Regions from separate parts of the Homo sapiens genome. Here region 1 is linked to region 2. The links are contacts of gene promoters, found by promoter capture Hi-C in blood cells and fetal thymus (Javierre and others, 2016). All regions are on one chromosome and are shown on one strand. The core of a region is centred on a gene start or on the middle of the fragment in contact, and the rest is flanking DNA. Distances in the headings are between cores, read along the strand shown. Region 1 overlaps CSNK2A2 (casein kinase 2 alpha 2). Region 2 holds the start of SETD6 (SET domain containing 6, protein lysine methyltransferase).

What was found. The method cuts DNA at HindIII sites, captures the fragments that hold promoters and counts their contacts. A CHiCAGO score of 5 or more calls a contact.
Region 1: a contact is called between a fragment that was not itself captured here and the fragment with the promoter of SETD6 in region 2, in 2 of 17 cell types (M2 macrophages and monocytes). The highest score is 6.4, in M2 macrophages.

What each region holds. Positions count from the first base shown.
Region 1 is chr16:58,170,879-58,177,820 of GRCh38, forward strand. It overlaps CSNK2A2 (casein kinase 2 alpha 2), which reads right to left. Exons shown (of 12, transcript NM_001896.4): 5 at 3,573-3,632. Among named protein-coding and RNA genes, the nearest start is that of CSNK2A2, 24 kb to the right of the region's middle. The HindIII fragment of the contact is 709 bases long and covers 4,392-5,100 here.
Region 2 is chr16:58,512,338-58,519,356 of GRCh38, forward strand. SETD6 (SET domain containing 6, protein lysine methyltransferase) reads left to right here and starts at 3,180. Exons shown (of 8, transcript NM_001160305.4): 1 at 3,180-3,227; 2 at 3,454-3,760; 3 at 3,865-4,006; 4 at 4,141-4,335; 5 at 4,471-4,591; 6 at 5,714-5,894; 7 at 6,064-6,206; 8 at 6,387-7,019. The coding sequence starts at 3,201. The coding sequence ends at 6,692. It overlaps NDRG4 (NDRG family member 4), which reads left to right. Exons shown (of 15, transcript NM_001242835.2): 15 at 1-1,282. RefSeq lists enhancers at 2,855-3,024, 4,065-4,234, 4,884-5,053 and a silencer at 3,145-3,804. The HindIII fragment of the contact is 14,988 bases long and covers 1,991-7,019 here.

The sequences.
Region 1 (6,942 bases), core at 3,496-5,995, 340 kb before region 2:
ATAACTATCTTCATAAACTTCAAATTCAGGACCTTTGGCTAATCTTAACAAGCACCTGAATCCTACACAAGGTCAATGAAATACTCTTCAAGTAGAATCCCTGTCCTCTACCTACCACTAGAGCCCCCCTCCAGTTTTAACAACCAAAAATGGTTCCAGATTTTGCCCAATGTCCCCTGGGGGACAAGCTTGACCTGGATAAGAAGCAATAAACTAGACTCTTGAGGACACTTGAATGGACTTCTTCATGCTGGAGGAGTACACAAGGCAGAGAATGAGCCCTAGGATTAGCATTCCAGGAATAAGCTCCCTCGATCTGTGCTTTTCCCTGAACCAAGAGTATACAATATAGAATGCTTGTTATGGCCAGGCGTGGTGGCTCACGCCTGTAATCCCAGCAGTTTGGGGGCCAAGGCGGGCAGATCACGAGGTCAGGAGTTTTGAGACCAGCCTGACCAACAGGGTGAAACCCCGTTTCTACTAAAAATACAAAAATTAGCCAGGTGTGGTGGTGCGTGCCTGTAATCCCAACTACTCAGGAGGCCGAGGCGGGAGAACTGCTTGAACCCGGGAGGTGGAGGTTGCAGTGAGCCGAGATCATGCCACCGCACTCCAGCCTGGGCGACAGATAAAAAAAGAAAGAATGCTTGTTATTTGAAGATCAAGAACAGGCACTACTAACTATGGGGATACATATAAAGATATAATCTTCAGAGGAGACACTGAACAGAAGAACACAAGAGAGCCCTGCAGGATGTTCACAATATCCTCTACCAGCCCTGTCCAATAGGACCTTCTGCAATGATGGAAATATTCTATTCCTGCACTCTATAATACGGTAGCCACTAGCCACATGAGGCCACTGAGCACCTGAAATGTGCCTAGTGTGATTAGGGAACTAAATTTTATTTTATTATTTTATTTTTTTGTACAGGGCCTTGCTCTGTTGCCCAGGCTAGAGTGCAGTGGCATGATCTCAGCTCACTGCAACCTCTGCCTCACAGGCTCAAGTGGATCCTCCCACCTCCACCTCCTGAGTAGCTGGAACCATAGGCATGTACCACTACACCTGGAGCATGCATATATATATATATATATATATTTTTTTTTTTTTTTTTTTTTTGGTAGCTATGGGGCTTTGCCATGTTGCCCAGGCTGGTCTTGAACTCCTGAGCTCAAGCAATCAACCTGCCTTGGCCTCCCGAAGCATTGGGATTTATAGGCGTGAGCCACCGAGTCTGGCCAGCAACTAAATTTTGAATTTTACTTAATTTAAATAGCTACCTATGGGCAGTGGTTACTAACTATACTGGATATCATCGTCCTGTGTAAATCTGGGTGAGAGTTTTACATACACAAACATCCAAAAGACTGTACGTTTAAGATTTATTTACTTCACTTACATTCTACTTCAATTTTTTCCCTCTGTTTTATAATAACTGTAGCAAGATTCCAAAGTGCCTTTGTGGCAGTGCTTTATGAAACCAGGGGTTGTGAGGGCAGACCTCCTTGAATCTGAATCAGGAGATCAGGTTAAGTCACCGAGTCATCACACTGCAGCCCTCAGCCTCAGTTGCTTCTACATTTTCAAAGGAGTTAAATATTTAGTCTTCCCCACTCCTGTTTTTTCTTTTCAAAGAGAAAATTTACCAAGTGTTGATTCTGCTATATTGCCTACTCTTTGTCCAAAGGAATAAACTAATTAAGACCACAATACCTGGCATGTGAAAAATACTCAATGAAAGCAAAGGCTGAACAAATACAGTAAGGTAATTAATTCTTTTGCCAAGTTTCCTAGTCGGACTCCCTATGGAGTTACTGACATGCTTTGAAATTCTTTGGGGAATTATTTCAGTTTTAAAATCTCGTACAGTTTCTGACCATTAAGCATGAATGACGTTTTTCAAGTTTCATCTGGGATTCTACGTCTCATTAGCAAAAATAAGTATATGTCCTCACTGCCTAGCTGCTACCTCCAGAAAGCAGAAAGGACATCAGACATTGAGTGACACCCACATGTCCACCTGGGAAGACCTGCATTAGTTGGATGTCTTTATGGGACCTAAGGGCAGGCTAGCTTATACAACTTTAGCTTTGGCTGATGGTTAAATAACACAAAATCTCAAACCATCTTACTTAAAAATAACCAACTGTGAGATCTGAATTGTAGCTCTCATGGGGTGAGAGTGCATGGGATTACTCAGGAAGCACTTCCAGGAAAGGAGCTAGCCTGACAGTTCACAGGATCATGGCACTGCAAATTTTATCCACACCAATGCTTCAATTTTAGTCTAGAGAAGACATGGAGAAACGTGGGATAAATCAAGCTCGACCTTTTTCGTGTTTCTGATCTTACTGACAAAAAGGAAGACCCATTAGCCATAAGAGTGAACCTTAAATCCACCACCTCAGCTTTCTCTAATAAAAAGTGGTGCGTACAAGTTCTTATAAAAACACATTCATTTCATAGAACTGTTCTTAAGATCTACAACTACCCTAAAACTTTTCACAAGACTGCATATTAATACATGCATTTTTGGAGGCAGTTCATAGTTTTCATTAGGTTCTTAGTGATCCAGGACACAAAAATCTAGGACCCATGGGTGTATTCCATTTTACAAACTGAGCATTCCTTTAAGTGCTTATCTAGACAAACAAAATGATCATTCCTCCACCAACCAGTAATTCTTCAAATTTCATTGTGCTTGGGATTAGTAAGTCTCTTAGACATTCTACCCATCACTTTTCCCTGCATTAACGAGCCACGGCTACAGGGGTAGGTTAGGAAGACTCATGCAAGAAGGGGATGACGACACATGGCAAGGAAAGATGGCTGCAAATGCCTGCCACCCCTGTAGGCATGTCTCTCTATAATATGCCTACATATTCAATGCTTTTCCCATCAAGAGTGGAGTCGGTTTTTCCATGCTTTGAAGCTAGGCTTGGCCATGTGATTTGCTTTGGCCAATAGGGTTATTAGCAAATATGACACAGGTAGAGGGTTGAAAAGTGCCTATACATTGAGGTTTCCCTCTCTCTGCTGCTAGGAACCCCAGGAGGACCACCATGGGAAGCAGCATGAACTTCACAGGCTGGAGGATGAGACCTCAGCTATCCCTGCTGCCCCAGCTGTGGTCCTAGATTGTGAATGAGGTCATCCTGGACCATCCTGCCCCAGTCAAATCAACTGAGACCTAAAGAATCACCTGGCTAACTCAATTATAAGAAACAATAATCATTTTTTAAAAGTCATTAAGTTTGGGATGATTTGTTACATTCACAGTAGGTATTAATAAAGCAGCAAAGAGAAAACATATGGACCAACAAGAGCTATGGGAGGTTCTAAGGTATAATGTCCCTGGTACCCCTTGACTTGGCCACTTTTTTCCCAGTTCCACTGGAAAGTTTCTATGTGAAGATTCCTCGATGGAGGCCTCAATATAAGTTTAAAAACTTCACTAAATCCTCTGGGTATCAAGAAACATTCTGCTTAAGTTCTCTTTGTTCTCTCAAAAACTTATCTTTTAATGAACAGGCCTGAAAAAAATTAATGGTTTATGAACACCACTTACTTTAAGTAGTTCATACATATAAAACCGGATATCAAAGTCTGTCAGGATCTGGTAGAGTTGCTGAAACAGATTCCAGAAAACAGAAAGTTAATTTAGTCTCACTGCATCTTGTCATCCTAAGTGCAGGCCATTCTCTAAGCTTATTTGATACTTAAGTGACTAAGGAATCCCATGACTTTTTTACTACCTGATCTGAAATAAATGGGAAGACTAAAGATGAAGGTTTTATATTTTAATCATCAGAAGAGAAGAAAAAAAAAAATGGAAGGAATTCCAAGGGAGAAAAACATTTAAGCCAACTCAGATCTTTCCTATTTAATGCTCTGTGATTTTGCCAATTACAATTATTAACCACAATTACACCATTGTGAAGTCTAAGTTGTCTGTCTTCACATTCTTACCGAACATCAAGAAAACTAACCCCACTGTAACACCACAGTATACTCTAGAGAAGTGAGTTCTGAGTGGATGGCAGAGCTCTGAAGAACTTCATGGGCTACTGTGGTAAAACAGTGGCGACACAGGCTGTTCTCAAAAAAGAAAAATAAGGAAAAAGGAGGTGCTATAGCATTTGCAGATGGCAAGAGCTTACAAAAAAATCTATACCCTCTGCTCCCCGGAAACCAATTCCAGACTGGAAAAAAAGAACATTTCACAGGCAACACCTGACGTCTTAGGAGTGAAAAAAGACAGGGGTATCAAAAATGATCACTGGCCAAACTGATAGGTAAATGGAAGTTTTCATTATTGGTAATCCAGAGACCCACTCGCTGGGAGTTTTTAAAAAATTTCTAAGAGTCAGAATACATTAATGCTACAAGCTTCATTAAAGGCATCATAAACCCTTGTCAGGAACTCTCATTATCTTTGATATCCAATCAAATCCATGTAAATCTGTTTTCCCATCAATCCAAGCCATGCTTTCTATAAAATTAAGAAACACACCTTTATTAAACTTCTCTTGTTCTTCTATTGAAAGAGAGACTCAAGCAATGTAGGGAATCTCTCCAGGGAACACAGAACAGTGTATATAATGTGTCTCTGTAATAAGGGGGAAAATAAAAACTATACATCCATATTTTCTGTATCTGCAAAAATGATACAGAAGTAATAAAAACTGGTTTCACGTATATATGTGTAAAGGAATAGGCAGCTGGAATACAGGGGAATAAAAGAGACTTTTCACTGTCTACCATTTTATATTTTTGATCCACATATAATGTTCAAAAAAATTTAATAAAAAAATCAAATTTGCCAAGAACCAAATTTAACATTTTCTAAGAATACCAGGTCTTTGCTTTCTCAAGTTTCCCCCTTTAGGTAAGAGTAATTCCCCCTGCCAGCTTAGGAAAAATATTTGATTTCATCAACCTCAGGGCAGCGCAGGGAACGAAATGCACAGGCCAGTACATGGTGTTGTGGGGTTGGGTGGCTGGCCCTGGCTACAGCTGACCCCCATTCAGGCAGAACAACACCAACAAGCCACCACTTCTGCTCAGGAGAGCTTCAGCTACATAACACACACCCAAGCTTTTTGTTCTTCTCCCAGCTCTGCTGCAAGAAGGCTTCTTAGCCAGGACTTGGCTGCACACTGACAGCTTGAATGTAAAGACAGGCTTAAGATGCCATCTCTTGGGTGTCAAAGCAGCTCCTCCTCTGTGAGTTAAGGAAATCACTCACAGAGACTAGGCTAAATTGAACTTCAAGTCAATAAATACGCTATGAAAGAGAAAAGATCTAATTTTCTAACCCTTAGAGGGCTGGAATATTTTATTTCCAGAAAACTAACATGGGCTATCTCATTAGGACTTTTATCTGTGGAAGGCCTCCCTCATCATGTGGTACCTACACCATGCATCTGTATAAATGGTGTAAGCCATAAAAATAAATGTCTCTGGACTGCCAACACAGTATTTCTAGCTACAAAAACCATTAACAATTTAATTCAAAGACACCAGTTGTACACTAGTGTTTAGGACTAAGATATTACAAAGTCCCAAGTGACTGGTTGCCATTCACCCTCACTTCTCAGGATCTCCGGGTAGGAGGAGACCAAACTACATCTGTAACATTTAACCGCCTGGGCCCAAAATTCAAGACTATGCAGGGTCCACAGTCTGGCTTCCTCCGACTTTTGTAGCTCTGTTCTTCACTGTACCCCCAGGAGTCCACAGCTCTGACAAAACAAGCCCGTGTTTGCTGCCTCCACTCTTCCCTCTCTAGCCCTACTCCACCTTAGCCTGTAAAGCCAAAACCAACCTGTCTGCTTTCTACAGAGCTGACAATGATACCTCCCTTCTCTATCTCCATGCCACTGACTCTCCAATGTGGCTGTGCACAGGACACCATTAAGAACACAATGTCCCCAGAGTTAACATTCCTCACACAGGGACTGGTGGTAACCTCAGGTTCTCAAGGTGACTCCTCACTCTGCTGCGTGCTTTGTCCAGACCCCAAGAGTCTCATGCCAACATTCCCTGTGCTTCGTGGCATACACAACAGGGAGAAATGGGTACAGTGGCTGGTGGCAGAGTCATCAAATTTGGTGATAAAAGATCTCTGAACTCTCCCCACCACCCAAGTATGCCAAGGGCCCACTGAACAACTCACTCAGTACCACACCCATTTCCTACACTGAACTCCAACCACATATGAAGTCCTCACACAGCCGAAAAGCAAGTGCTTCATACACCAAACACCATGTATGGCAGCTCTGTCTTGCATACATGTTTTTACAATGTTCACAGTCAATGGAACAAAACAGAAGCACTCTTCCAAGAAACAGAAGTACCAAGAGTCCATGACACATTAGAAAGAGAAACGTCACAAGAACTACACTTTCTCTCCCTTCTTCTTAGCCAGCTACAGGGAGAACATTATTAAACAATCCACTGCAAAATGCTGGCAGGAAGTCAGCTTTGGTTACATTTTCAAAAAATAAATGACTTAAAAGGTGGAAATTTCCTGGGCCTTTTAATTAGCTCCAAAAAGTCTGAGGAGGGCCTCCATGGTGTAAAACCACAGACACCCACAAAGGCATGGCCACAGGTGGGCCTCACTGCTACCGTAGGCATACACACAGCTGTTCAGACTCCAAGTGCAATTCAGCTGCATCACCATGAGCCACAGATCTGAAGACCCCATTCCCAACCATGACCTTCAGGAAGATTCACACTTTTATAAGACAGCTTCCCAGGCAGCTCTGGTCACCTGCCAGATGTGGGAATCACCAACACACCAAACTCTCAAGCCACACAGTGTGTGCACATTCCCTGATATACACAGCTCAGTCTATGCCCATAAATCCCTGTCATGTGTAGAGAGAAGAAAAAGTGGTGGGATACATAAAGTCCAAGCAAAAGAGGTATTT
Region 2 (7,019 bases), core at 1,930-4,429:
GGTGAGGGAGAAGGAGGAGAGAGCCCATGTGTGGTGTGTGTGCCCCTGAGAACTTCGTGGTGACTGCCTTTGGGAGCCCGCAGGTGGCCAGAGGCAGGGGTAGCTGAGTTCCTGGAGACCCCTTTTTTGCCCCCAGGTTCCCCAGAGGGCAACGCCATCAGTAGCAGTGTGGTGTTTCAGGCAGAGCTCTGGCCAGGCTGTGCCAGTGTGTCCCGGACGCATCACTAAGGAAGAGAGAGTTTATTTAGTCAACTGGCCCAAGGCAGCGAGGCTTCTACAGTCCCACACCCCATAGCCGCCTGGGCTGGGGCTTACTGGGGGCTGAAGGTTCTGGACATGAACAAGGGTCAGGTAGAAGAGAAAGGCTTCCCCTACACCCCAGCCTCCTGCTGTCCCCTGAAGCCCAGGACTGCGTTGTATGCTTTCCATCCACTCACCTTACCCCATAGCATCTTGCGGCCCAGAAACCAGAGCCATTTGTCTCAGACCCTAAATCAATAATCACAAACCCCAAAACGGGAGAGAGCAGTGAAAACATGCAGGGCTGTGGACGGGGGAAGGGTTGTGGCGGGTGTTCTGAGGCTGAGAGGACACCTATATGCGTATTTCCTCTACACACATCACCCCCCTTCTATAATCTTAAGCCATGACTAGCCTGGTGGCGTGTTAGTTTCTGCCCAGTTCTACCCCCTCATGTGCTTCTTCTGAATACTGAATGTGACTGTTTGAAAGCTGGTAGAATTCATCCCTCTTACTGTAGATAACACTGCAAATCTTGGAATTTTGTTTTTTGCTGTTTCCAGATGTATCTATAAATATCTATACATTATATGTGTGTGTGTGTGTGTGTGTGTGTGTGTACATCGGGTCCTCCCATGTGTGGTGTTCTTCTGGAGGTTGTCTCTTTGGTCAAGGTGAACTTTTAATGTTTATTATTTTCTTCTCCGCACAAAGTAAAGAGCCTAATTTTGTGTATTCTGGTGGCTGCTGTCATGAGATGATAAAATGTAAAACAAAACTCTAGTCAACGTAGAAAGAGTTAACTGTGCTGAAAAACTAATAAAGAACCTAAGAAGAATTCCAGTGTGGTGATGCCATGCCCATCATGGGAGGCTTTTGGAGAAACAGAATGTTTGGGCAGGGGCTGCTGGTGCTGCTTGGGTTTTGGGTTGAGGGTGCTAGGAGAGGATGGTCTCCACCCATCTTTCTATTTCCAGTACACGTCACATTATTTTACCGGTGAGATGAGAATGTCACAAACATTAAAAGCCTTATGTGCTCATTTCTGCTTATGTGCTCATTTCTCCCCTGACTCTGTGACAAAATACAGCTCTCCTCAGCCAGGCACGGTGGCTCAAGCCTGTAATCTCAGCACTTTGGGAGGCTGAGGCGGGCAGATCACTTGAGGCCAGCAGTTCGAGACCAGCCTGGGCAACATGGTGAAACCCCGTCTCTACTAAAAATACAAAAATTAGCTGAGCATGGTGGCGCGTGCCTGTAATACCAGCTACTCGGGAGGCTGAGGCAGGAGAATCGCTTGAACCTAGGAGGCAGAGGTGGTAGTGAGTGGAGATCGTGCCACTGCACTCCAGCCTGGATGACAGAGCAAGACTCTGCCTCAAAATAAAACAAAAAAACAAAATACAGCTCTCCAGAAAAAAATGCCTTAAAGACAAAACAAAACACCCCTGCCCTCCAAATCTCTTGCCTGAGTCACTACATTCCTTCAAAGATAAATGACCTACTCTTTGCCTTCTCCTAAACATACGATCATGTCTGACAGGGTTAATGATTATACTCTGCAATCTATAACCAGATATACTTATCCCTAAACTTTGATATGATTTTACACATACTAAATCTTCACCTATGTATAACCTAAACTAAAATACCGTGTTAGAGGAGCCTCACAAGATTACTCCTGGGCTACAGGCCTCAGTCTATAGTCCTCAATAAGGCTTCTAAATAAAACTAATTTTAATTATTTAAAAGCTTAATATTTTTTCTTTAGTCAACATACCAATCCTTACATTAATTCTACAGAGTAGGTATTATCTTAGTTTCGCAGGTGAGGAGACTAAGGTTCAGGAAAAAGGATTTGCCTGAGTAACAGACCAGGCCGCGCGCGGTGGCTCACGCCTGTAATCCTAGCACTCTGGGAGGCCGAGGCGGGGGGATTGCCTGAGCTCAGGAGTTCGAGACCAGCCTGGGCAACGCGGTGAAACCCCGACTCTACTAAAAATAAACACAAAAAATTAGCTGGGCATGGCAGCGTACGCCTGTAGTCCCAGCTACTTGGGAGGCTGAGGCAGGGGAATTGCTTGAACCCGGGAGGTGGAGGTTGCAGTGAGCCGAGATCGCACCACTGCACTCCAGCCTGGGCGAGACTCCCGTCTCCCCAACGCGCCAAAAAAAAAAAAAAAAAAAAGGAAAAAAAAAAAAAACTGAGTGTTGAGCTGCGGCGTTGCTTGGCTTCAAAACCCATTCCTGTAACCTCTATATTCACAGCCTCATTTTCTTACATTTAACAGCATGCTACTTCCCCAGGTTTAACCACCATTTGTTTTATTCATTTATTTACCCAATAGGTAGATATTGAGTCCCTACTATGTCAGCTAATAAAACCCACCACGTGCTATGCAGCAGATTAAAAACGAGGATGTACTGGCAAATAAGGGCAGAGAGGATCTATTCTAGATCCAGGAGCCCTCTAGGCCACGCCACTCTGAAACACACACGAAAACTGCTCTGAACGAATACCACCAGTAAAAGGGTTCCATGGCCATCGGCAACAAGGGGTCGAGATCAGGAGGTCGCTCGCCGCCCAGTTGCGTCGCTCACCACCGGCCGGCCACCAGACCCTCGGCTTCCGATCCAGAAACCGTATTTTGTTCTTGCACCCAGACCGCAAGAAGCCTCAGCCCTCGGGGACAGACCGAAGGCCAGGGCTGTACCTGGCTCAGAACCAGGCGCCAAGCGGCACGGGACTCTCCTTCTGCACTCGCAGCGCGTGAGTGCAATTGGAGATCCTGGACTCAAGATGTTTTCATGAGGAACGATTCCAGCCCGCGGTAACTCCGGCCAGTCTGCAGCGTGGACGACAAAACAGGCACCACGTGGTTCCGGCGCCGGGGCGGGGCCAGAGACGCCGGAAGTGACCGCGCGGTGCGCCGGCCCGCGAGGAAACGCGCTCTTAGACCATGGCGACCCAGGCGAAGCGTCCACGGGTGAGTGGCGGGCGCGGGGTCCAGCCTTTTCCTCCGCGCCTCACCCCTTCTCCGTTCGCAGAACCGTCCGCCTGCGCCCCCTCCGCTCCCTCCCGCGGGTCCCGCGCCCCTCTCCGCTCGTCCCCTCCTCCACCCAAAGCCCGTTCTGCGCTCGCGCCGCGGTCTCCTGCAGTTCCCAGCGGCCTCTCTGGGGGTCGGACCTGGTCACTGCGCGCACTTATCTCAGGTGGCGGGGCCCGTGGACGGCGGCGACCTGGATCCTGTGGCCTGCTTCCTGAGCTGGTGCCGGCGGGTGGGGCTGGAGCTGAGTCCCAAGGTGAGCGAGCGAGCCGGCGGGCGGAGGACCCGCGGCGGGGCGCGGGCTGCCCTGACCAGCCCTCCTGCTCAGGTGGCGGTCAGCCGGCAGGGCACGGTGGCCGGCTACGGCATGGTGGCCCGGGAGAGCGTGCAGGCCGGAGAGCTGTTGTTCGTGGTGCCGCGGGCCGCGCTCCTGTCGCAGCACACCTGCTCCATCGGCGGCCTGCTGGAGCGAGGTGGGCACGGCGGCGGGCTAGGGCCCTGGGGCGGGGCGGGGCGGGGCGGGGCGGGCCCGGCCCGCGAGGCCGCGCCGGGGCGCTCACACCTGTGTCTTCCTCAGAGCGAGTTGCGCTGCAGAGCCAGTCGGGCTGGGTGCCACTGCTGCTGGCGCTGCTCCACGAGCTGCAGGCCCCGGCCTCACGCTGGAGGCCCTACTTTGCGCTCTGGCCCGAGCTGGGCCGCTTGGAGCACCCGATGTTCTGGTGAGAGCCTTGGGAGGGGTTGGGGAGCGCCTGCACCGTAGCCTGCTGCAAGAAGTTTCCCCGCCCCTGCACCAGTCCTACCCAGTAAAGTGTGTGAAGGAATGAAGGGAACCTGGGTGTGGGTGTCCCTGCAGGCCAGAGGAGGAGCGCCGGTGCCTGCTCCAGGGCACAGGCGTACCTGAGGCCGTGGAGAAGGATTTGGCCAACATCCGCAGCGAGTACCAGTCCATCGTGCTGCCCTTCATGGAAGCCCACCCCGATCTCTTCAGCCTCAGGGTTCGCTCCCTAGAACTCTACCACCAGCTGGTGGCCCTTGTGATGGCCTATAGGTCAGTGGGTGGGGCCTCTGAGGACGGAACCCTTTTCTTTACAACTCTATAGAGGGACAAAAGTGGAAAAACAGTGAAATCCACCCCCAGTCCCTCACCCAAGACAGGGCCTTAGCCAGGTTCTGTCAATGGCAGCTTTCAGGAACCACTGGAGGAAGAAGAGGATGAAAAGGAGCCCAACTCCCCCGTGATGGTGCCTGCTGCAGACATACTAAACCACTTAGCCAATCACAACGCCAATCTAGAATACTCTGCGGTGAGTGGAGTTTCTCTTGGTGCACTGATTGAGCATGATTCAAGCCATTGTGTCTTAGGCTCCATTCTCTTACTAGTGCTACAAAATGAGTAGGTGAAATCAGCTCCTCCTGTATGTCCTTTTAGTATGCATATTACTGTAGAATCATTTGAATGCGAAACATTTTAAAGTCCTCAAAGTAAGTTGTGGTTAATCCTCTGATAAACTATACTACCATCATTTATTTAGTGCTAGACATTGAGTGGTCTGCATAGCCATGTTTCATTCCTTTCTGGCTGATCACATCAGTGAGCCCAGACTGTGTGTGGCTCTGTGGATAGCAGCCTGGAACAGTGATAGTCTCCGTGTTTTGGAGGGATGAGGACATTCACAGGCCAAAGGTCTAAGACGATCCTAGAACTGATATAAAGCTGTGTTTATACCAGCTCTATTCTATATAAAAAGTAGCCTGAAAAGATGGCACATTTATAGGATCAGAAATTAGTAAGTATGGTTATTTCTTAATCCTTGCCTCCATTTTCCTTTCCCACTTTGATCTGCGAAAGTTCCATTTTTTCCCCCCCGAGGCGGAGTCTCACTGTGTCGCCCAGGCTGGAGTGCAGTGGCGTGATCTCGGCTCACTGCAACTGCCGCCTCCTGGGTTCAAGCAATTCTCCCTGCCTCAGCCTCCCGAGTAGTTGGAATTACAGGCTCCTGCCACCATGCCCGGCTAATTTTTGTATTTTTTAGTAGGGATGGGGTTTCTCCGTGTTGGCCAGGCTGGTCTTGAACTCCTGATCTCAGGTGATCTGCCCACTTTGACCTCCCTAAGTGCTGGGATTACAGGTGTGAGCCACTGCGCCTGGCCGAAAATTTCGTTTTTAAAGCTAGCAACTTTTTAAGTGCTGAAGAGGACTGTGCAGAAATCCACCCAGTTAAACATGAAGCTGGCCTTTTAAAGTTAGCCCAACCCTTTTTTGTTTCACAGTTTAGGGTCTAACAGGAACTAAAGGTAGAACTTTGGTAGTTAACAGCATCAGTCATGGCTGAACTACACCTGCTGAAGGCTCTTCTTAAGTGGAAATAATCTTCATGGGGCTGGCCCGTGAAAGGCATGGCCCCAGCTTCTCCCTTTCACCTCAGAATTGTCTTCGGATGGTAGCCACTCAGCCCATTCCTAAAGGCCATGAGATTTTCAACACTTATGGGCAAATGGCTAACTGGCAACTGATTCATATGTACGGTTTTGTTGAACCATATCCTGACAACACAGATGACACAGCTGACATTCAGATGGTGACAGTTCGTGAGGCAGCATTACAGGGTGAGTGTATCATTAACTCAATATTTGACACTGATGGTGTGTCTATACCCATGCCTCAGGTTAAATAGCTTTGCTAAATAGCAGTTGACTTTGTAGACTGGGTGGCAGACTAAAGAAGAAATGAACCCTTGGGTGTACTGAGACTTTCACATTGCTGTTTCATCTACAGGAACAAAAACTGAAGCTGAAAGGCACCTAGTGTACGAGCGCTGGGATTTCCTATGCAAACTGGAGATGGTAGGGGAAGAGGGAGCCTTTGTGATAGGGAGGGAGGAGGTGCTGACTGAAGAGGAGCTGACCACCACACTAAAGGTAAACGGCTGAAAATGGCCATTTAATGCTGATAATCTAAGTATTTAAAGCAAAATAGCTAGAAGATGAGAGAGGAAATGTGGGATTTTTAATAAATGCTAAGATGAGTTTAGTCTCCTGAGTCATTTCAGAAGTACAAAAGCAGTACATCTAATTAAAGAGCTCTGTGGTTGCTTCTAGGTACTGTGCATGCCTGCTGAGGAGTTCAGAGAGCTTAAAGACCAGGATGGAGGGGGAGATGATAAAAGGGAAGAGGGCAGCCTGACGATCACAAATATTCCCAAGCTCAAAGCATCGTGGAGACAGCTGCTTCAAAACAGTGTTCTACTGACTTTGCAGACCTATGCCACAGACTTAAAAACTGACCAAGGTTTACTCAGTAATAAGGAAGTCTATGCGAAACTCAGCTGGAGGGAACAGCAAGCCTTACAGGTTCGCTATGGTCAGAAGATGATCTTACATCAGTTGTTGGAGCTGACAAGTTAGCAGTTTCCCTGTTCCCTGAAGGAACAGCAATAAGAACTTTATTCTAAGCTAATACTCATTGATGTTTGAAAAAGAGGAAAATTTGGATCTTTCTTTTGCTTACTAAACACCAAGAGGAAAAGTAGCAAAGTTGGTGTGCTAGGATTAACTCAGGTAAGGGTGATGTGTTTTAGGATTGAGAACAGCAGACTTGGGAATCACTGCTAATTGTTACTTAAAGCATGTTACAGATGTTTTGTTCTCAGTTTTAACCAAAGCCAGTGGACATACGGTAGTAATAAGTAAGTCTTGTTGTGTTTCAGCATTTAATAATAGACTTTGGAGGTA